3 separate regions of the Homo sapiens genome follow, and all the other regions are linked to region 3. Evidence: promoter capture Hi-C in 16 types of primary human blood cells and fetal thymus (Javierre and others, 2016). All regions are on one chromosome and are shown on one strand. The core of a region is centred on a gene start or on the middle of the fragment in contact, and the rest is flanking DNA. Distances in the headings are between cores, read along the strand shown. Region 1 holds the start of CA2 (carbonic anhydrase 2). Region 2 holds the start of E2F5 (E2F transcription factor 5). Region 3 overlaps CPNE3 (copine 3).

Region 1 (3,059 bases), core at 551-3,050, 1.1 Mb before region 3:
ACATCAATGGGCCCCAACAGATACAATGCACCTACAGAGGCACAAATAAAAGCTTCTTCTTTGCTACAAACTCCATTTTGTAATGGTCCTAAAAATTTAAAAACTTTATTGCTGCTTTCTTGCCTAAGAATTCCCTGTGACATCAACCCAAAACCCACATAAGCAGAAGTACACAATTTTCTAGAATCTTAGAACAAGTAAGTCTAAACATGAATCATATTTGTTTGGATGAAATTGACTGAAATAAATAGTAAAGAGTGATTTTGAGATACATATTGCAAAAATGTCCACTAATAACTTATCCTTGTATTTATCTGTATATTTTCAAAGGTAAGTAATGTGATGTCAAGGCCGACACAATCACATTAAACTGTGTCCTGCTTCCCCAACTGTAACTCTAATACTATTGCCCTCAGAGATTGCAGAGACCACAGAACCGAACTCCTTCCCACAAACCCCCGGATTTTTCTGTGGCAAAATCCCTTGTAGGAAATGAATTCTCTCTATATCTCAAAACAGCCTCACTTACCCAGTAGGCCCTGTAAGCACAGTGTCTCAGGTCCACAATACTTTTAGATGCCCAGGAAAATGTTTCCTTTTAAAATAAGAACAAAAAAGAAAAAAATTAGGTGTTGGTTAAAGAAAATGTTTAAATATATAATATTAAGATATTTATCTTTATGTCAGTGTTGGTATAAATGCGTGTTTATGAAAAAGGGACCCACCAAGGTGAAATGCCGTAGGACCCACAAATGTCATAATGCTGGCTGGCCTCAAAATGTCCTTCCTATTAAACTATTTTGAATGATTCCTAGGTATGCCAGATGCCAATTTTTCTTGGCCAGCCAGGGAACGTCTCATGTCTTTGGAAGAAATTATCTTTCTCTTACTGGATTCTTCTGAGAAAAGTGATTTGTTAAAAGTTTTGGTTATTTCAAATCAATATGTACTCAACTAGGACGTCTCCTCACCCACGTTAATTTTTTAAAGAGGAGGAAAGTAGGAGAAGATGAGCGCTTCATGTAAGGCTCTGCCAGCCTACGAGGAAATGCAATCCTCCAGGCTCGCCCGAGCGTGGGCTGCGGGCAGGGGACTGTGGGGCCGTTGTCTCGTTTTATTCCACGGCCGTGCAGCAGAGGGCGCGTGCCTCTCAGCACTCATGCTGCGCGCTCCCCTGCGCCTCTAGGATCGTATCCCTATTTGCCCCAAGGTCATAGCTCCTAACCCAGCTTGCCAGCCCCAGGCCGGGGACACCAGAGACTGAGCCCTTCGCGCTGGAGACCCCGGCGCGGGTGGGGCGGGAGGGCTCCGGGGCCAAGAGACAGGTCACAATGGGGACAGGGGACGAAAGGCGCCGGGGGTCCGGGTCCCGAGCAGTCCCCGCCGCCGCCAGACTCCGCAGCCGGGAGGGGGATGGGGTGCGCGTAGAGGCTCCGCGGCCCGGGTTGGACGGAGGAGCCCAGGAGCCACCGCAGCCGCCGCACGCCCAGAGCTCCGAGCTTCGCTGCCAGCCCAGGACACCGGGGCCCTGCCGTGGGCCGAGGGGAGCCGGGCGGCGGGAGAGGAGCCCCGGAGCCCCGGAGCCCCGGAGCCCCGCCGGGCGCCAGCCGAGAGGGCGTTTTCCCCGCCCCCGGAGACTCGCCCGCCCGGCCCGCCCCGCCCCGAGCGCGGGGAGTTCACCTCCGCCCGTCACCACCTCCCCTTGTCGCCTAGGTCCACCCGAGCCCCCTCCCCCGGGCCGCCCCCGAGCACGAAGTTGGCGGGAGCCTATAAAAGCTGGTGCCGGCGCGACCCGCGGACACACAGTGCAGGCGCCCAAGCCGCCGCCGCCAGATCGGTGCCGATTCCTGCCCTGCCCCGACCGCCAGCGCGACCATGTCCCATCACTGGGGGTACGGCAAACACAACGGTGAGTGCCGGCGACGGCCAGCGCGGGGGCGCCCCGATCCCCGATCCCCGATCCCCGATCCCCGAGCCCGGATGCCGGCCCGGGGCCCGCAGCGCCCGCACATGCTGTTTACCGCGGCCGCGGGGAGTGCTGGAGGCTCAGGTGCGCCCCGGGCGCTCGCTCCGCTCGCGGCTCCGCGGCGCCGGGGATGTCCCCCTTGCCCCAGCTGCGAGGCCACTGTGGAGGAATCCCCGCGTCCGCCGGAGGCGCGTAGGGCCCGAGGGAGGGGAGGCGCAGCCCTGGCCGCGGGACCCGAGGACAGTCCCTCCCGGGTCCCGACCTGGGGATCATTTTAACCGGACCTAGGAGGAGGCGGGAAAGGGTTGTAACGGAAAATTCTAGTTGTTGATCGCAGAGAAATTAAGAGACTCCCCTCCCCCCTCCCCCACCTTCCACCCCCACCCCACCCCTCCAGCTTCAGCACCACCTGTGGCTAAGGCGCTCAGCACGAACTGTCCCGGGGCATTTTCCAGTGCTGGTTTGAATCCATGGCTCTGATTTCCGAGTTTTCCCTTCATCTCTCGACTTCTAATGTTAGGGGGTCGGACATCAGGAATCGGGTTTTATCTTGGCCTCAGATCTGGTTCTTCGGAGCCAGCGGAGCAGAGGAGCATGCGTCTGGCGCACCTAGCGCATCTTTGGAGGGTGTGGGGCTTCCCAGGTAGTGGGGAACCCTGACGGTTAAAGGTGGGGTGGGCCCGGGCCTGGGCAGTGAGGAAAGGATCCAGACCTCCTTGAATGTCTTAAGTGAGCTTGCATATCCCAAAATCGCAACCACAAGCCCTGACATTAGTGTCTGCCCGATTTCAGTTGCTGAATTTCAGTAAAACGACCTTAAAATAGCTAATATTTATATAGCACTCAGTGATCTAAGAGCTTTACATATATCGATTCTAATTCTTACAGCGACATCTATGAGGTAGATTTCTAATTATCCCATATTACAAATGTGGAAACTGAGGCACAGATTACGTGTTTTCCCAAAATTTAGCCCATTGTTAAGTGATGCTTCTAAAATTGGAACTGAGCAGATTGGCTCCGGAATGATTGCTCTTCTCTAGGGGTCTGGGTGTACCTTTCCCCACAATGGGGGATTCACATGTCTTCTTTC
Region 2 (2,826 bases), core at 94-2,593, 1.3 Mb before region 3:
TATGATGTGTTATAAATGGTGTGTTCAGCTTTACTAGTTAATGCTGTTGTATTTGATGTCGCTTCAGTGACCTTTTTTGTTAGTTTATTGTTACTTAAAATTAAGCAAAATCTTTCTTGCATGAAATCTTCTTGATTAATTATTGCCATATAGAATTTTCATTCACCTAATCTTTTTTTTTTTTATTTGAGACAGAGTCTTGCTTTGTTGCCCAGGCTGAAGTGCAGTGGTGGCATCTCGGCTCACTGCAACACTGCAACGTCTGCCTCCTGGGTTTAAGAGATTCTCCTGCCTCAGGCTCTGGAGTAGCTGGGACTATAGGCGGGCACCACCACCCCCCGCTAATTTTTGTATTTTTAGTAGAGACGGGGTTTTACCATGTTGGCCAGGTTGGTCTCGAACTCCTGATCTCAAATGATCTGCCTGCCTCGGCCTCCCAAAGTGCTGGGATTACAGGCGTAAGCCACCGCGCCTGGTCTCATTCGCCTAATCTTTATTGTCTACTATATTCAAAGTGTTGAGTGTGACAACAAGTCATTTAAAATTTAGTCTGGATTCTCAAGAGTTTGTAATATAATGAGGAAAAAATCCCAACGACTTTCTTTTACTCAGATCTCCATAATGTCATTTGCCATCAATAGTTTGGAATATCACTGAAGTCCAAGGGCCTGTGGCTACCCAATATTCCAAATACAATATAATTTGGTTCAAATAAGATATTAAGAACTTTGGTCAAGAACTTTGGTCAAACACAGGAGATCTGGAATCTAACGGCATGTCTTTGGCAATTCACAACCTCTCCCTCTACACGTTTCTCCATGTAGAAAGTAAAGGCCTTGGAAAGGATTGATGAAAACCAACCCTAAAACTCCACGATGCCTTTTTCTGTACTCCGAATCTAAAAGGGTGAGCTATGAAGTAAAACTCTGCACTTGGTCCAAGTCATTGAAATATTTGCAAACGATGCTAGAGCTCGAAAAGAGCAAAGATAGCAGAAACCGTCCAGAGAAAGTAACCTACTGCTGAAGCTCTGCAAACTTGAGCAGTCAACCAACTTCACCGCTCACAAACGTTTGGCCGCTAGGCATTGTGACTTTCTGCCCAGATAAAAGTCTTTTTTTCTTTTGTCTCCTTTTTTTCTTCCTCCCTGCTTTGCCGCGTGAGATTACCACTCCTCGGGTCAGCTCGCGAACGCCAGGGAGGCGAGTGTGAAACACACGCGCCAACACCCCTCCTCCTCCTCGTGCGCTCCTCCTTCCTACAGAAAAATGTGTTTCTAGGCAACGGCGGGCGGCGGCGTCACTTCCTGCCATTTAAACTCAGGTCCCCACCCCTCGCAGCCCCTTCTCCTCGTTTCCACCCCTCCCCCCTCGGTCGTGGGCCTCATTCACGCTTCCCCGGGCTTGGGGAGGGGGCGGAGGCCCGGCGTGACAAGCGGCCCAGACTCCCGTGGGCGCCGCACACCTGTTGTTTGCAGCAGCCAGCGACCCGCACTACCGCTCTCGGCGGGCGGGGAAGCGGCCGCAGCGGAGCCGACCCGGCAGGTGGCCGCGGGCGGGGCCGGCGAGCGAAAGTGCGCGGGGGCCCGACCACCGCGGGGCCGGGACGCGATGGCGGCGGCAGAGCCCGCGAGCTCGGGCCAGCAGGCGCCGGCAGGGCAGGGGCAGGGCCAGCGGCCGCCGCCGCAGCCTCCGCAGGCGCAAGCCCCGCAGCCGCCCCCGCCGCCGCAGCTCGGGGGCGCCGGGGGCGGCAGCAGCAGGCACGAGAAGAGCCTGGGGCTGCTCACTACCAAGTTCGTGTCGCTGCTGCAGGAGGCCAAGGACGGCGTTCTGGATCTCAAAGCGGTGAGCTCCGGAGGCGGGGACGGGGGCGGACTTCGGAACCCGTGGCCCCCGGGGAAGCCCAGCCCCTCGCCGCGTGGGTCTAGCGGCGTGGTGTAGACGCGCCTTGCGGGGACCCGGGACCGGGCAATCCGAGGACCATGTGGCCTGCGCCCGGGTCGTGGACGCCGGGATGGGGGAGGGACGAGGGACCAGGATGGCACCGAGCGGACGCGTAACCAATGGGGCCCGGCGCCACGCTGGGCTCTCGACAAAGAGCCCAGGACCTCGAGCGCGCCCGCGTGGCTTCTGTCTCCGGGCGCAGGGACCTGAGGGTAACCGAGTGTCTGTTGCTCTGCGTCCACCTGTGGCAGAGGCTCACGGGGTAACGGGCGCTTTGCCCGGAGACACCGTGGATATCGATTTTGCTGTTAAGAATGGATGGTTTTAATAGGCGATTCCAGTTGGAACCATGTTCCTGTAGTTTAAATAAAAAGGAGGAAAAACAAAACCCAGTCTGCCATCTCTACCAGATGAAAGAAAAAAAAAAAAGAGTACTTCTTTCCACGCCCCTCCCCGATAAAATAGTATTAAATCTTCCTTGTGCACTTCTTTCATCACCCTGATAGTTAGGAGGGGTATTTGATTTGTGACTTCATTTGGCATGTGTCATGGGTTTCCAAAAGTGAGATCTGCTGTCACACGAAAAGGGGATATTTTACAACTTTCACCCAAAGAGGTGGAAGTGCTCAGTAAACTCTCTCCCTGCGTCGTCCTTTACAGCGTTCAGATTTTTCAAACAGGAGCAGGCATCAAAAGCTGTTCTGTCATACAGAATGACTTAACCGATCTAGGAAGGATTTGGAAGAATTCAACAGCGCTCAGGATAATGAGAATGTGGTCACTCCGCGCGAAGTTTAAGAACTAAAGTTTTAGAAACAAACAAACAAAAAACACTAACTGCCCAATAATCACTGCAAATCCCCTTTGACTCCCTAAATGTGGC
Region 3 (2,853 bases), core at 261-2,760:
TTGAGTCACTGACATGAGCCTGCGCTCCCCTCACCTGCGTACCTTATCTATACTCAAGGCTGACTATTTCACCAAATTAATTTTATGTAAATCCCAAAAATCATTATTGTTTCAAGAAGCTTTTCATAAGTAAGGATGAGAAAGCTGCTTTATGTCTTACTACTTAATAACAAGCCATCTATGCTGAGACAATCAATTAAAATCCCTGACTCAGTAATAAAATAATTGCTACAATTCATAGAGTGTCTATTATATGCTGAGCATGCTACAGACCTACAGTTGTCAGGGTTTTTATTAAGTTTATTTTTCTCTCTTAGCCTTATTTACATTGAAGGACTAGTGTCAGGGTTTTTTAATATCCCCATTTTATAAATTAGGAAATTGAAGTTCAGATAGACAATTTGGCAGAGGTGACACATCCAAATTAGTGATGGGAAAGAAATTTGAATGACACACGCTGACTCCAGCATTATTGCTCTTTCTGCTACAAATAACCTGTGCCAGATGTCATGCTTCAGGAAGAAGAGGAAGTGGTAAAATATGTTCGCTGCCCACAGTTCACAGTATATAGACGGAGTGATGAGCCACAAATACAAGTAACAATAGTGGAAAGAAAATAGAATCAGTGCCATAACAGCATGAGGGGTATCAGCAGGGTATCAGCAACAGCTGTATGAATGAAGTATCATTTGAAGTGTTTGTTTTGTTTTGTTTTGAGATAGAGTCTCACTCTGTCGCCCAGGCTGGAGTGCAGTGGTACCATCTCGGCTCACTGCAACCTTCACCTCCTTGGTTCAAGTGATTCTCCTGCCTCAGCCTCCCGAGTAGCTGGGATTACAGGCACCTGCCACCACACCTGGCTAATTTCTGTATATTTAGTAGAGACAGGGTTTCACCATGTTGGCCAGGCTGAGTTCTTGAACTCCTGACCTCAAGTGATCCCCCTACCTCGCCCACCCAAAGTGCTGGGATTACAGGTGTGAGCCACCGTGCCCGGCCTGAAGTGGATCTTGAAGAACTTGGGTGGGCAGAGGTAGCTGTTCAGGTAGATTAGGGGTAGATGTTGGCAGAGCCATGAATTCCAGGCTTAGTTCATTGGACTATCACTTTTTAATCAGAAGTGATAAAACCATAATGTGAATGGAGAGAAAATGGCAGTGGGAATACCCATTAGGAGACTATTATATAAGGCAGGTGAGAGATACAGAAGACCTGAAGTTAGGGTTGTGACTCTGGGTATGGGAAAGCGGCTGTATCTCCATGTTTGGGAGAGATTTGGGGTTCTAGTAGGCAGAATCTCTATGACATCTTTACTGGATAAATCTAAGAGTAGGTTTAAGGAGGAATGGGAAAAGAGGAAGTAGATAAGACTTCAGGATTTTCAGCCAGGGCATGGGAATGACCAGATGCCTTAAATTTCACATATCAGGTACCACTTTAAATATTAGGTCTTAATTCTCAGCTCCTTATGTTTATCTCTGTTATAATATTGATTCAGAACGTTAGGGTGACTGGGAGAATTATTGATATATTTGGTGTTTCTAGGGATTATTTGCATTTCAGAAGACGTGTTTGGATCAAATTTTGTCCAACAAGTAATAATCTGTACAGTAGGGAAGCTGTTGTCTAATCCTAGGGATTATTTGTGTTTTCTATCCTGCTCTTTAAGGAGTAAAATACTACATAGAATTCTTCTTTAGTTGCTCATGCATTCTTTGCCAGGTGACTTATCCCAGCCAAATCTTTCATACTAAAAGAGTATAAAACGTTTGTTTTATTTTTCCTCATCATAATTTTTTTTTTTTTTTTTTTTGCGACAGGGTCTTGCTCTGTCACCCAGGCTGCAGTGCATAGCTTACTGTGGCCTCGAACTCCTGAACTTGAGTGAGCCTCCTGCCTTAGCCTACTGAGTAGCTGGGACTACAGGTGCATGCCACCTTGGCTGGCTAATTTTTTCATTTTTCTTTCTTTCTTTCTTTCTTTTTTAGACGGAGTCTTGCTCTGTCGCCCAGGTTGGAATGCAATGGCGTGATCTCACTGACCGAAACCTCCGCCTCTGAGGTTCAAGTGATTCTCCTGCCTCAGCCTCCTGAGTAGCTGGGATTACAGGCATGTACCACCATGCCTGGCTAATTTTTGTGTTTTTAGTAGAGACGGGGTTTCACCAGGTTGGCCAGGCTGGTCTCAAACTCCTGACCTGGGATAATCCACCTGCCTCGGCCTCCCGAAATGCTGGGATTACAGGTGTGAGCCACTGCGCCCAGCCTAAAATTTTTTGTTTTTGTAGAGATGAGGTCTCTGTTGCTCAGGCTGGTCTTGAACTCCTGGGCTCAAGCAATCCTACTGCCTCAGCCTCCCAAAGTGCTGGGATTACAAGTATGAGCCAATATGCCCAGCTCCCATTATGATTTGTGGATAAAGTATACTATTGCTCTCTTAAAAAATTGTATATCATGTACTGGATAATTACATTAAAAGGAAATGAAAACAGTATCTTCATGAATATTACCATTAACAAGATTCCAGACCCTAGTGTTTATGTAATTTCTTCCATTTGCCATTCAGCCATAATGGGTTTCAGGATAACATTGAGACCAGCACAGAGTCATTTTTCAGAGAGGAATGCTGCTAATAGAAGAAATTTGTTTCCTGGCAGCAATGCAGTAGTATAACTGTCAGCAATTGGTTAAATAATCAGCTGTGCCTGGCATGTTGTTTTTGTAGCTTTTGTATAAGCATTTTTAGGGAAAAAAATAATGCTCTTCTGATATGTGGTGTCTCTTTGCTGTGAGACTGACTTCACATGTAGATGTCTTCATTCTCTGTTGAATTCTTCCCATCCTTGGAAATTTG

What was found. The method cuts DNA at HindIII sites, captures the fragments that hold promoters and counts their contacts. A CHiCAGO score of 5 or more calls a contact.
Region 1: a contact is called between the fragment with the promoter of CA2 here and a fragment that was not itself captured in region 3, in 2 of 17 cell types (naive B cells and total B cells). The highest score is 6.1, in naive B cells.
Region 2: a contact is called between the fragment with the promoter of E2F5 here and a fragment that was not itself captured in region 3, in 1 of 17 cell types (naive B cells). The highest score is 6.7, in naive B cells.

The regions. Positions count from the first base shown.
Region 1 is chr8:85,462,207-85,465,265 of GRCh38, forward strand. CA2 (carbonic anhydrase 2) reads left to right here and starts at 1,801. Exons shown (of 7, transcript NM_000067.3): 1 at 1,801-1,909. The coding sequence starts at 1,876. It overlaps CA3-AS1 (CA3 antisense RNA 1), which reads right to left and starts at 2,709. Exons shown (of 3, transcript NR_121630.1): 1 at 2,376-2,709; 2 at 530-595. RefSeq lists enhancers at 1-9, 1,910-2,409 and silencers at 1,037-1,296, 1,367-1,686, 1,797-2,266. The HindIII fragment of the contact is 7,146 bases long and covers 51-3,059 here.
Region 2 is chr8:85,175,811-85,178,636 of GRCh38, forward strand. E2F5 (E2F transcription factor 5) reads left to right here and starts at 1,344. Exons shown (of 8, transcript NM_001951.4): 1 at 1,344-1,844. The coding sequence starts at 1,611. It overlaps E2F5-DT (E2F5 divergent transcript), which reads right to left and starts at 1,231. Exons shown (of 3, transcript NR_134311.1): 1 at 1,021-1,231. RefSeq lists an enhancer at 1,005-1,174 and silencers at 1,275-1,804, 1,815-2,204. The HindIII fragment of the contact is 15,711 bases long and covers 1-2,826 here.
Region 3 is chr8:86,522,889-86,525,741 of GRCh38, forward strand. The region is part of intron 2 of CPNE3 (copine 3); the gene reads left to right. Among named protein-coding and RNA genes, the nearest start is that of CPNE3, 9.9 kb to the left of the region's middle. RefSeq lists enhancers at 400-499, 520-569. The HindIII fragment of the contact is 2,787 bases long and covers 118-2,853 here.